2 separate regions of the Homo sapiens genome follow, and region 2 is linked to region 1. The links are contacts of gene promoters, found by promoter capture Hi-C in human tissues and cell types (Jung and others, 2019). All regions are on one chromosome and are shown on one strand. The core of a region is centred on a gene start or on the middle of the fragment in contact, and the rest is flanking DNA. Distances in the headings are between cores, read along the strand shown.

Region 1 (4,673 bases), core at 917-3,416:
CAATCTTCAAACTTAAATACTCTCATTTCGTCCAGTGTAGCCCCTTCTCTGAGTGTTACCTTTAGCAAGTGGGTCACTAAAGACGTTTCAGAAAAGCTTATCTAATATCACCACAGAGGACTCTGAGGTCACACTATTCTGGTCTTTACCTCATACTTAGCAACGATACGCACGACACAGAATACAACATGCTCACACAGTGCCTTCCACTGAGTTTCATACACTCCTAGGAATTTAACACCTACTGAACGAATGGAAATGATTCTCAGTTGTGTTTATACACTGAGAAAATTTTAAAGTTTCCCTATCCAGGGTCCAAGCAGCGGCATATCTTCAAGCTCTGCCAAGTGCAGACAGAGCCCCCTTGGCTCACGTTGCCGTGGATCAGAGAATACCAAACCCTGCAGCTACCCATGTGAACGATGGAATGTAAAAGCTAAACTAAACCCATTCCCACTCCCCGCTTGGCTTTGACGCAGGGGTGGTGGTGGAGAGGATTCACTAAGTGTGCCCCGCTTTGCTCCCTCCCAGCACGCAGGGCTCCATGTTGTCCTGAGCTTGGCTGTCCAGCTCTTGTTGCCCTGACTACCTTCAACTCTTAAAATCCCGCCAGGAGATCAAAATGACAGGAAAAGCAAAGGGAAAGAACCTAGAGAAGGAATGGCAACCTTCCAGTCGAAAATCCCCAAAGCAGTGTTTTTTGACTCCTAGTGCAACAAGTGACCCTCTCAAGCGGCTCTTGAAACCACGCAGCCCGCAACTCGGGGATCCACCTCGCGTGCGCCCGAGGAGCACAGCAGGCTGGACACACCAACCTTTTCCCCAACCGTGACCCAAACAGTGGCTTGGATTCGATCCTTTCCACCCCCAAGCCTTGAGGAAAATCCACTTGAGACTTTTTTCCATCTCCAGATTTCCGACGGTCGATATCCTCCTGCATCCAGCCCATTTCCTAGTTTCCTGAAGGGTAGGGAGGACGTCTGTGAGTTGGATGTCTGAGAGCGTGCGTGTGCTAGGGATTTTAAACGTCTCCCCTCTCTTCCACTTCTTCGATATGTGCTCTGAGCTTTAGGTGTCGCCTCACAAATGGGATCAATAATCCTTGTTTTACCAACTTTGTCATGAAACCCTAGAAAATCATATATATTAAAAGGGCTTTAGAAATTGTCAGGTGCCCGACAGGTTGCAGCCGCGGGTTACCTCGGAGGCCAAGGCAGCCACCTCTGCAAGGGAGTTCTGCGTCCAAGCATGGCTTGTCCGTCCCGCCTGGCCCCCATCAACAAGGCCGGGACCAGCGGCCGGTGGAACGAGCGAGAGCAGCCCTAGTCCCACAGGTGAGCCGCCCCCACAAGCAGCCAAGCCGCGAGCCGTCCCGGCGCCGTCACCGCCCGCACTCACTTCTCCACTCCGGGAGGGAGATGGGAGGCGTGGGAGAACGCGGAGAGGCGCGGCGAGGCTGGGAGCGGGAGACGGCGCCGGGAGGCGGGAAGCGGACCAGAGAATGGGAGAAGCCCGGCAGGTGGACAGGAGGAAACAAAACCCAAACGCCCCACCCTCGAAGTCGTCAGGAGCTGAGCGAAGGAAGGAGCGAGGTAGGAAAGCGTGGCGCCCCAAATATGCCGCGGGAGCGGCGCGGGAGGCGCAGAACCCCGGAGCTTGCAGCCTAGCGCGCGGGGTCCCAGCGGAGCGCGAGGACGCGAGCGGAGCCCTCCCGGTTACCTGTGCTGCTTCCGCCCTGGCTGCCCCTGTCCCGAGGGAAGATGCCCGAGCACTTCTCCCACTCCACCTGGCCGGCGAAGCACAGCTCGGTGACGATGTGCAGAGCCTTCTGGCACAGACTGTTCACTCCGTCCTCCTTGTGGAAACTCATCGTTTGGCTTTTCTTTCGTTTTCTCTTTTTTTCCCAGTTAGCCGTCTTTTCCTCTTCCCGTACCTCTAACCCCTCTGGCGCCCTAAGCCATAGTCCGCCCGCGGTGACTTTGGCTGGAGATTGCGCCGCTGAGAGCCGGCAACTCTTAGGAGCCCCACGTTGGCCCCATGGCGGGAGCGGAGGGCGTAGGGGAAGGAGAGGCGCGCGAGGAGGCTGCGGCTGCCGCGAGGTTTGCGCCAACTCTCCCGCCGCGCGAGCGAGCCGAGGCGCGCTGGAACTAGAGACCCGGCATGGAGTGCTGAGGGGAGGGGGGAGCCGTAAAAAAGCCAAAGCAAGCCCTCGACTCGCAAGCACGCCCCCCTCCTCTCCCCAGCGCACTGGTGTTTCTGGCGGGTGCCTGGCGGCGACGCGTCCAATCGCAGCCCGGCGCGGGCGCTAGGTGACAGGCGGCGGAGCGCGCAGACCCGGCTCCCCGCGTCCTCTGAAGAAGGGACTCGCGAGGGAGGGAGGGAGGGAGGGCGGGCGGCCCGGCGCCCCTGCCGAGGCCGGGGATGCTCATCGTTGCCCAGAGTTGGCCCGAGGAGCCCTCTCCGTTTTCCCAATACTTTTCCCTGCATCAGTGCAGCCATCCCCGCCGCCTTTGTCTCTCCAACTTTTCCACGGATGTATTCTACTTTCTGTGCTATCTGCTTCTGCCCTTCTGGAAAAGTCATCCCAATCGAAGAAAAACTGAAAAAGTTAATTAGAAAAAAGAATGCGTGAATAAGCAAACCCTCTTAGGTAGATCACAAAATAAAATGTTATTTGTACTAATAATCAGATAAGATTCTGTCGATTAATCCGTAATTGGCGATTGAGAATGCACAACTTGACTCCCTCCATCTCCTTTCTTAGCGACTTAAAACAAGACATGGGTGTTAAAGGGAACAGGATTAAGTTCAAATCTGTCACACATCTCAGCCTAACCTTGAAGTTGTTTTCAGGTCTTGGCGATCCTCCTACTTCAGCCTCCCTAGTAGCTAGGACTCCAGGGACTCCAGGCGCTATTTTTTTTTTTTAAACTTATTGTAAAGACAAGGATCTCACTATGGTGCCCTGGCTGGTCTCGAACTCCTGGGCTCAATCAATCCTACCGCCTTAGCTTCCCAAAATGCTGGCACTAGCCACCACGGCCGGCCTGCTTTCGGGTCTTTGCCTGAGTCTGTAAAATGGGAGATTTGGACTCGGATGTCTTAAGCTCACCTGTTTTTATAATTCTTTAATGCAAATGGGTGCAAATCAGTAGAACTAAAGCGACAAAATAATAAACATGGGCTTCAGGATATAATATGTTTATATGGTTTTTAAACTGTTTTCGGGCAGAGTTTGATCCCATATCATAACCTGAGGATTGATTTAACCCTCTTGTGATGAGGGATTCTTTATTTTTGAAGTGGGATACATTGAACTTGTTAGCGTGTCTATGCTAGTAGAATAAGTAGTCTTTTTTAAAAACAGCTAATCAGTTCATGGTAAATTATTTGCTTTGCACAGGACTATGGTAAACCTAGTATAAATATTAGGCATAGCACTCCAGTAGGGAAGCATTCATTAGTTGAATCATTTTGACCTGATCCATAGGACGATTGGTTTAACTAGGACTATTTTTACCACGAATTAAGACAAACTAAAATCTGCAGGCTTCATTTGGTTTTTGTCTTTATGCACACTGACTTGGGTGGTTTTTAAGTCAAATTGTCTAAAGAAATAATTTCACTGTCAATCAAAAAATATTAAACATCTACTGTATGCACAAAACTAAATAACACACTTTAATAAGGCCCTTTCCAATTGCCTTTTGCCCCCCATTCTGCTACAGTCTACACAGACAGACCGGTAGAAAACAGCCTGCAATGCAATGCTGTACTTTCATATTTACCATATGAACTAATTGCTGTGTAGGAGGACCAAATGAGTAATTATCTTTATACTACTTACAGATTCTAATTGCTTAAGTGGAGTAATGCAGAAGGTCTCCCTAATGACCCTCTTGTGTTTGATTTCAGTGTTAAACATTAGGTAAACAAATTCTGAAAATAACTTTCCTGGTATTTGTTTATGCTGTTCCTGGCCTGTTGCTACTCTTACTGCTGTGTTTTCACAACAAGCAGAGTTAATTTCACTTGGATATTCGTTTTTCTGAATTCATTTCTCTGAAAAAAATTTTCTTTCATCTAAAATGAATATCACAGGTTTTGATTTTTTTCTTTGTTCTTTGGACCATCTCGCAGCTCATTAGCAGGTGAATCAAAACAGTTTTGTTTGTCACTAACTAAAAGCTCAGGTAAGAATTTTGGGCAAAGTAAAAACTGCATTGAAGGTCATCTTTTTCAATGCTGAAGGATAAGATGACAAGAATTTCAATTTTCAGTCTTTAAATTTTTTTTCCAACTATTTCAGCTACCAAGAACCTAAAAAGTAAATCAAGCAATACAGATTTGCATTTACTTCCCCACTCACACTCTGAAGGAATTGGTGAAATAGTAAAAGGAGAGGAGTGCAGGTTAGACTGATATTTACTGAGCATTGTTGGCTGTGCTGAGTACTATAGTAGCCATTGTTAGTCAAAAAAATACTAGCTGTAATGATCTCTGTCACAGCTTCCTTCTGGATGACCTCTACGTTATGTAGAGGAGGGATTGGTTTGGAAATAAGGAGCCCAGGAAAAACCCGTGTGAACTAAGCATACCTGTTAAGTGACAATTTTAAACATTCAAAACTCTGATTTCCCTACTTGCTCAATCCTCTTTCAATTCCTTCTTGC
Region 2 (4,673 bases), core at 1,083-3,582, 59 kb before region 1:
AACCAGGAAAAGAATACTAATTATACAATAAGCAGTAAAGTGTACTTTAGACAACATCCACTGTTGAAACAAATAATAACTTTCCAAGCCGTGAGCTACTCAGAGAATACACGTCTATACTTATAAAGTTCTAGGGGAAAACACCAAGTGACTGGGTATCTGTGTGTGTGTGTGTGTGTGTGTGTGTGTGTGTGTTTGTAGATGCATTTGTGTGTGTGTGTGTCTGTCTTTTATGATTTATACTAAATTATGAAGTCAGATAAAGACTTGACGCATTCACATATAAACAGATATTGACGATGACAGTTCACCTGTGTGAGCATGCAATGCTCATTTGGTGTTCATCCTATTTCCCTTAACACGTCCTGAGTAACAAAGCCAAGGTCACTTTTTTTGTGACTAAACTGAGATTAGAACCTCGTCCCACTGATATTTAGTCAATGGGATACTGCACAGCCTCTCCCATTCAATCCAGTCCCTAGTGCCAGAACAAGAAGCACTAAGCACTTAATATTCATCATTTCTTTAGTTTTACTCTGAGTTTACCACTATTTCAGAGTCATAGCAGAAACACAGAGGGTAAAGTAACTTGCCCGAGGTTTCACAATAAGCAGTCACACAGCAGAGCCAGGCCTTGAACTCGACTAAACTGACACCCCAATATTTTAAAAACCTGTGGGCAGTTTTACTTCCTGACCAGAGCTGAGGGAGACATATCTTTCCCCTTACGCAGAAAAGTTATATTAGGTGACAGCACCTTTATTTAGGGATTGTGGAACACTTTAGGTAAGGTGGCTGTTTTTTACAGAAGAGAAGGACAAAAATGCAGTTTCCAGTTAGTAATAAACTTATTAGATTGCTCCAGCACTCACTGATGTAAGTTTTCAGGCTATGCAAAAAAAAAAAAAAAAAAAAAAAAAAAAAAAGAGACTTGCAAATGGCTTACTGTCCAAAAGAATATGAAGCCCAGAAAATGTAGTGTTTTTTAAAATCCAGGAAGGCACACAGAACTTTGAATATTAAATGTTAGACAATGTGGGACAAAAGCAAGAACAATCTTTTCTATTTTTTTTAACAAGGGTGAATACATAAAATATCAGATAAAGGTTAGCAAATAAATAATATTTAAGCAAAAGAGACAACAAAAAGAGCAGACGTAAGGAACTCACAAGCTTACCTCCAGCAATGGGTGCCAGTGCGTTATTGGTTTTCGATGATAGGCCAGCATTTCATTCCAGTGGTCTCGCCCAAGACCCTCAGCATCCAGTCCTGTTCTGCACACTCCTATGACCTCATTGTGTCCTACCCTATGATTTGTGGGATATTATATTTTCATTTCCAACATTCAAAGATAAAGGGGGTTTCACAAATCGTAGTAGAATTTTAAAAATATGATTAAAACATTAGATTCTGTAATTTTGCAGATTATGCTACTTCAGACCGAATGAAATCTCTTAAGTAAATCAACATTTACTAAACAGTATCAACATTCAAAAAATGAATGTGTATAAGAGGCACACACAAACCATTTCAGTGCTTTGTAGTTTAAGCACATTTCATCATAATAAAAATGGCATGAATGAGAAATACCAGTAGGTCTTTACCTATATGATGAGTGTCTTTCTTGGAAGCAGTCTTATTTAATACAAGTGATGTAAAACAAATCTTGTTCTTTCCACAAAGCTTAATGTTTTATAACGATGTTTAGATTTCTCACCAAGAAATACAGCAGTACCAATTTTCTTTAATTGACTCTAAATGATACCTCAGTGTGTTACCACTTGCATTACAATTAAATAGGGCAGGATTATGTTCAGTTGCATGGCATGTGATTTATTTTTGCATAACAGAAAACATACTGGACAACATTTGTATATTCTATTCAGGTCCTGCTTTCATAGCAATGAATCAAGATGATAATAATAACAGTTAATATTTTTGAGAGCTTATTATGTGCCAGTGTTCTAGGTAGTTTAAATGTACTGACCCAATTAATTCCCCCACCATGACCATGAATATCATTATTATCATTCTCTCATTTTATGAATAAACTAAATGCCCAGAAGATTAGGAGCTGGCCAGACTTTACACACTTAGTAAGAGGCAGAGACAGGAGCTGAATCAAAGGAGTTGTTGGCTCAAGAGCACTTGTGGTTAAGTTGCTTCTCAAGAATGGAATGTCATTGAAAGGAGTTTCAATTTTGACAGACATCTCCAAAGATACTTTTGAGATGATTTTAGAACAATTTCATTACTTTTTTTTCCATCATTGATGTAGATATGTATATGTAGTATTATTTTCTTTAATATGAAATTTCCCAAACAAGCATGTTTTTAGGTACAAAAATTTTGTCTTCCTGTGTATATCTTGTTAGCATCCATTTCCCTAAAATTGCCCCAGTGACAAATGCTCAGTTGTATCTACCTACACTTATTGCTGTGAGAAATCAATAGGGGTAATTGGCAAAGCAGAATAGGGCCCCTGATGAAAACATCTGCAACTTTTTTAGTTTGAAATTTCAATGGATTCAAGAGTTCGCTCTCTCTTTCTAAATAGTAGTCACAAGTTAAAATTTTTTAAAAATTATAAATTCATTTCTAGTAGACAGTGCTTGCAAATGTTATTTTTCAGTGTTTCCCCCCCTAGCTCTAAGCCAGAGGAGAGCACATTAATATCTCTCAGTTACAGGGTCCTGGTGATGATACTATAAAATGGACACTTAGCGTGTGTTTGTGCGTTTTAGAACAAAATAAATATACTAAGGTACTGTTTATGTGTTGATAATTTTGTAGGTTAAAAACACAAGTATTCATTTCCAAAGATTTTATAAATATAAAGGGCAAAATAATAAGAGGAAGTATATAGTAAGGCCCAAATAAGAGACATAAACCATTGATGGGACAAGAGTTCAGAGGAAGAAGAGGATTGGTCAGCAAAGCAAGACTTACAGAGGTGCTGACATAAGCCAGGCTGTGGGGTGTTGGTGGGACATGATACACAAAGCTGGAGGACAGTCCAGGCAACGGGGAGAGTGGGAGGGCAAAGGTAAGAGCTGCAGTGGGAAGGATCTTCAGAGCTGCATAGGGGAGGTTGCAATGTTTTCATGAAAGCAGGAGTGACTCAAAGAGTGTGATCTGGAAGAACTATCCATAAAGCAATGCTTTAAGATTGATGTGAAGGCATCAAAGCTGTATCCTTATGACTACTTATTCACTTTCCACTCTTACTCCTCGTTGTTCACAGTTCTGTATGATGCTTAAGTTTTACAAATGGGAAAAGTGATTCTCAAAGTGATTATGTAACATGTCCTCTCATGCAGCTAGTTAATGATAGAACTCGGGTAAGCATCATGATATTCATATTCCAGCCTAGTTGGTAAAACAAATTCTGTTGATTGTAATCTCTGTTGTTACTATAAAAAGACTCCACAATAGTGCTTTCTTGAATATGTTCTATACTACTTCTGGACCCATTCTTTCACCAGTCCCCGGTGAATTTTAATTTAAAGATGACTTCTTTTGGAAATGAAAATCCAGAACTATAACACAGAAAACAATGAATTTTCAAGGAATCATTATTCCCTCCTCCAATTTAAATTAAAACTGTTGTGGCAGTAAATGACCTGAAAAGCTGAGTTTGGCCTGCGCATGACTAGACATGGCTGCTCTTCAGTGAGAAGAGAGATACACATACCTATCGTAATCCATGACCGCAATGGAGAGGCTGACCTGGTCCACGTTCTCTGGAGGGATGTCAAAAATAATGGCCTCATTGTACACAGGGTTTAGAGTGTTTTTCTTTGTAGTTGTTTTCCTCTTTTTTAATCTTCGACCTTCACACATCAGGGACACTTTGACATAAGGATCTAGGAATAAGAAGATAACTTTATTAAAATAAAAGTAATAGTACAAAGCATAAATAAAACTGCAGTTTATTTTTACTAAATAAGACCTATAGTACTAAGGCCTATATTAAGACCTTTAGTATTACCAATTTTAAATTTGTCTCCAAAAAAAAGAGTAATTGTAGTAAGGTTAGTTTCTTTCAAAATGGTCTAGAGTAAGAAGATCAAAACTTGTGAAAGACTTAGCAACTCTGTACCTAGACAGATAGAGATGATCACAATAAGCAGAAATTAGAAAGCGAAAGCTATACTTGGAATTTTCTTCAATTACTGGAAAAGGACCTAAAATTAAAAATATCATTTGCTTGATAAGGAACTTGGATGGAAAAAAATGATACTTACAAGTGATTTATTGCATGCACAACAGTAAATGATAAAAGGGGGGATATTTGGTTTAAAGATGGCCACACAAAAAGAAGCCTCCTGATATGACATTGTCTACATCATGCCAATTACGGGGGAAAAATTTAGTTGGGCTACATTTTTACAGGCCAAAGGGATCAGATAATTGTTGACAAGTTCTGCTACAGCTGACTTGACATCTATCCTATTACCCTTACCATCTTAAATTGTAAAACTGCTATAGTATTATAGAACATTATATGATGGTTATACAAAATTTCCAACAAGCCTTACTTTTGCACCTTTTATTCAAAGCAGGCACGGTTTTGGGAGGTGATACTGACATTGGGTTGAGTACACTAGATAGTTAAACAATCAGTGTTTGCTATCAATTTTTTTTTCATTCTGACCATCCTCTAACTGTAG

Evidence for each region. The method cuts DNA at HindIII sites, captures the fragments that hold promoters and counts their contacts. A contact is called where the count stands out against the background at its distance.
Region 2: a contact is called between a fragment that was not itself captured here and the fragment with the promoter of SYT10 in region 1, in 1 of the 25 tissues and cell types used here (dorsolateral prefrontal cortex).

What each region holds. Positions count from the first base shown.
Region 1 is chr12:33,437,653-33,442,325 of GRCh38, forward strand. SYT10 (synaptotagmin 10) reads right to left here and starts at 2,167. Exons shown (of 7, transcript NM_198992.4): 1 at 1,720-2,167. The coding sequence starts at 1,870. RefSeq lists an enhancer at 1,078-1,894. The HindIII fragment of the contact is 9,708 bases long and covers 1-4,673 here.
Region 2 is chr12:33,378,655-33,383,327 of GRCh38, forward strand. It overlaps SYT10 (synaptotagmin 10), which reads right to left. Exons shown (of 7, transcript NM_198992.4): 5 at 3,695-3,866; 6 at 1,178-1,307. Among named protein-coding and RNA genes, the nearest start is that of SYT10, 59 kb to the right of the region's middle. The HindIII fragment of the contact is 5,901 bases long and covers 1-4,673 here.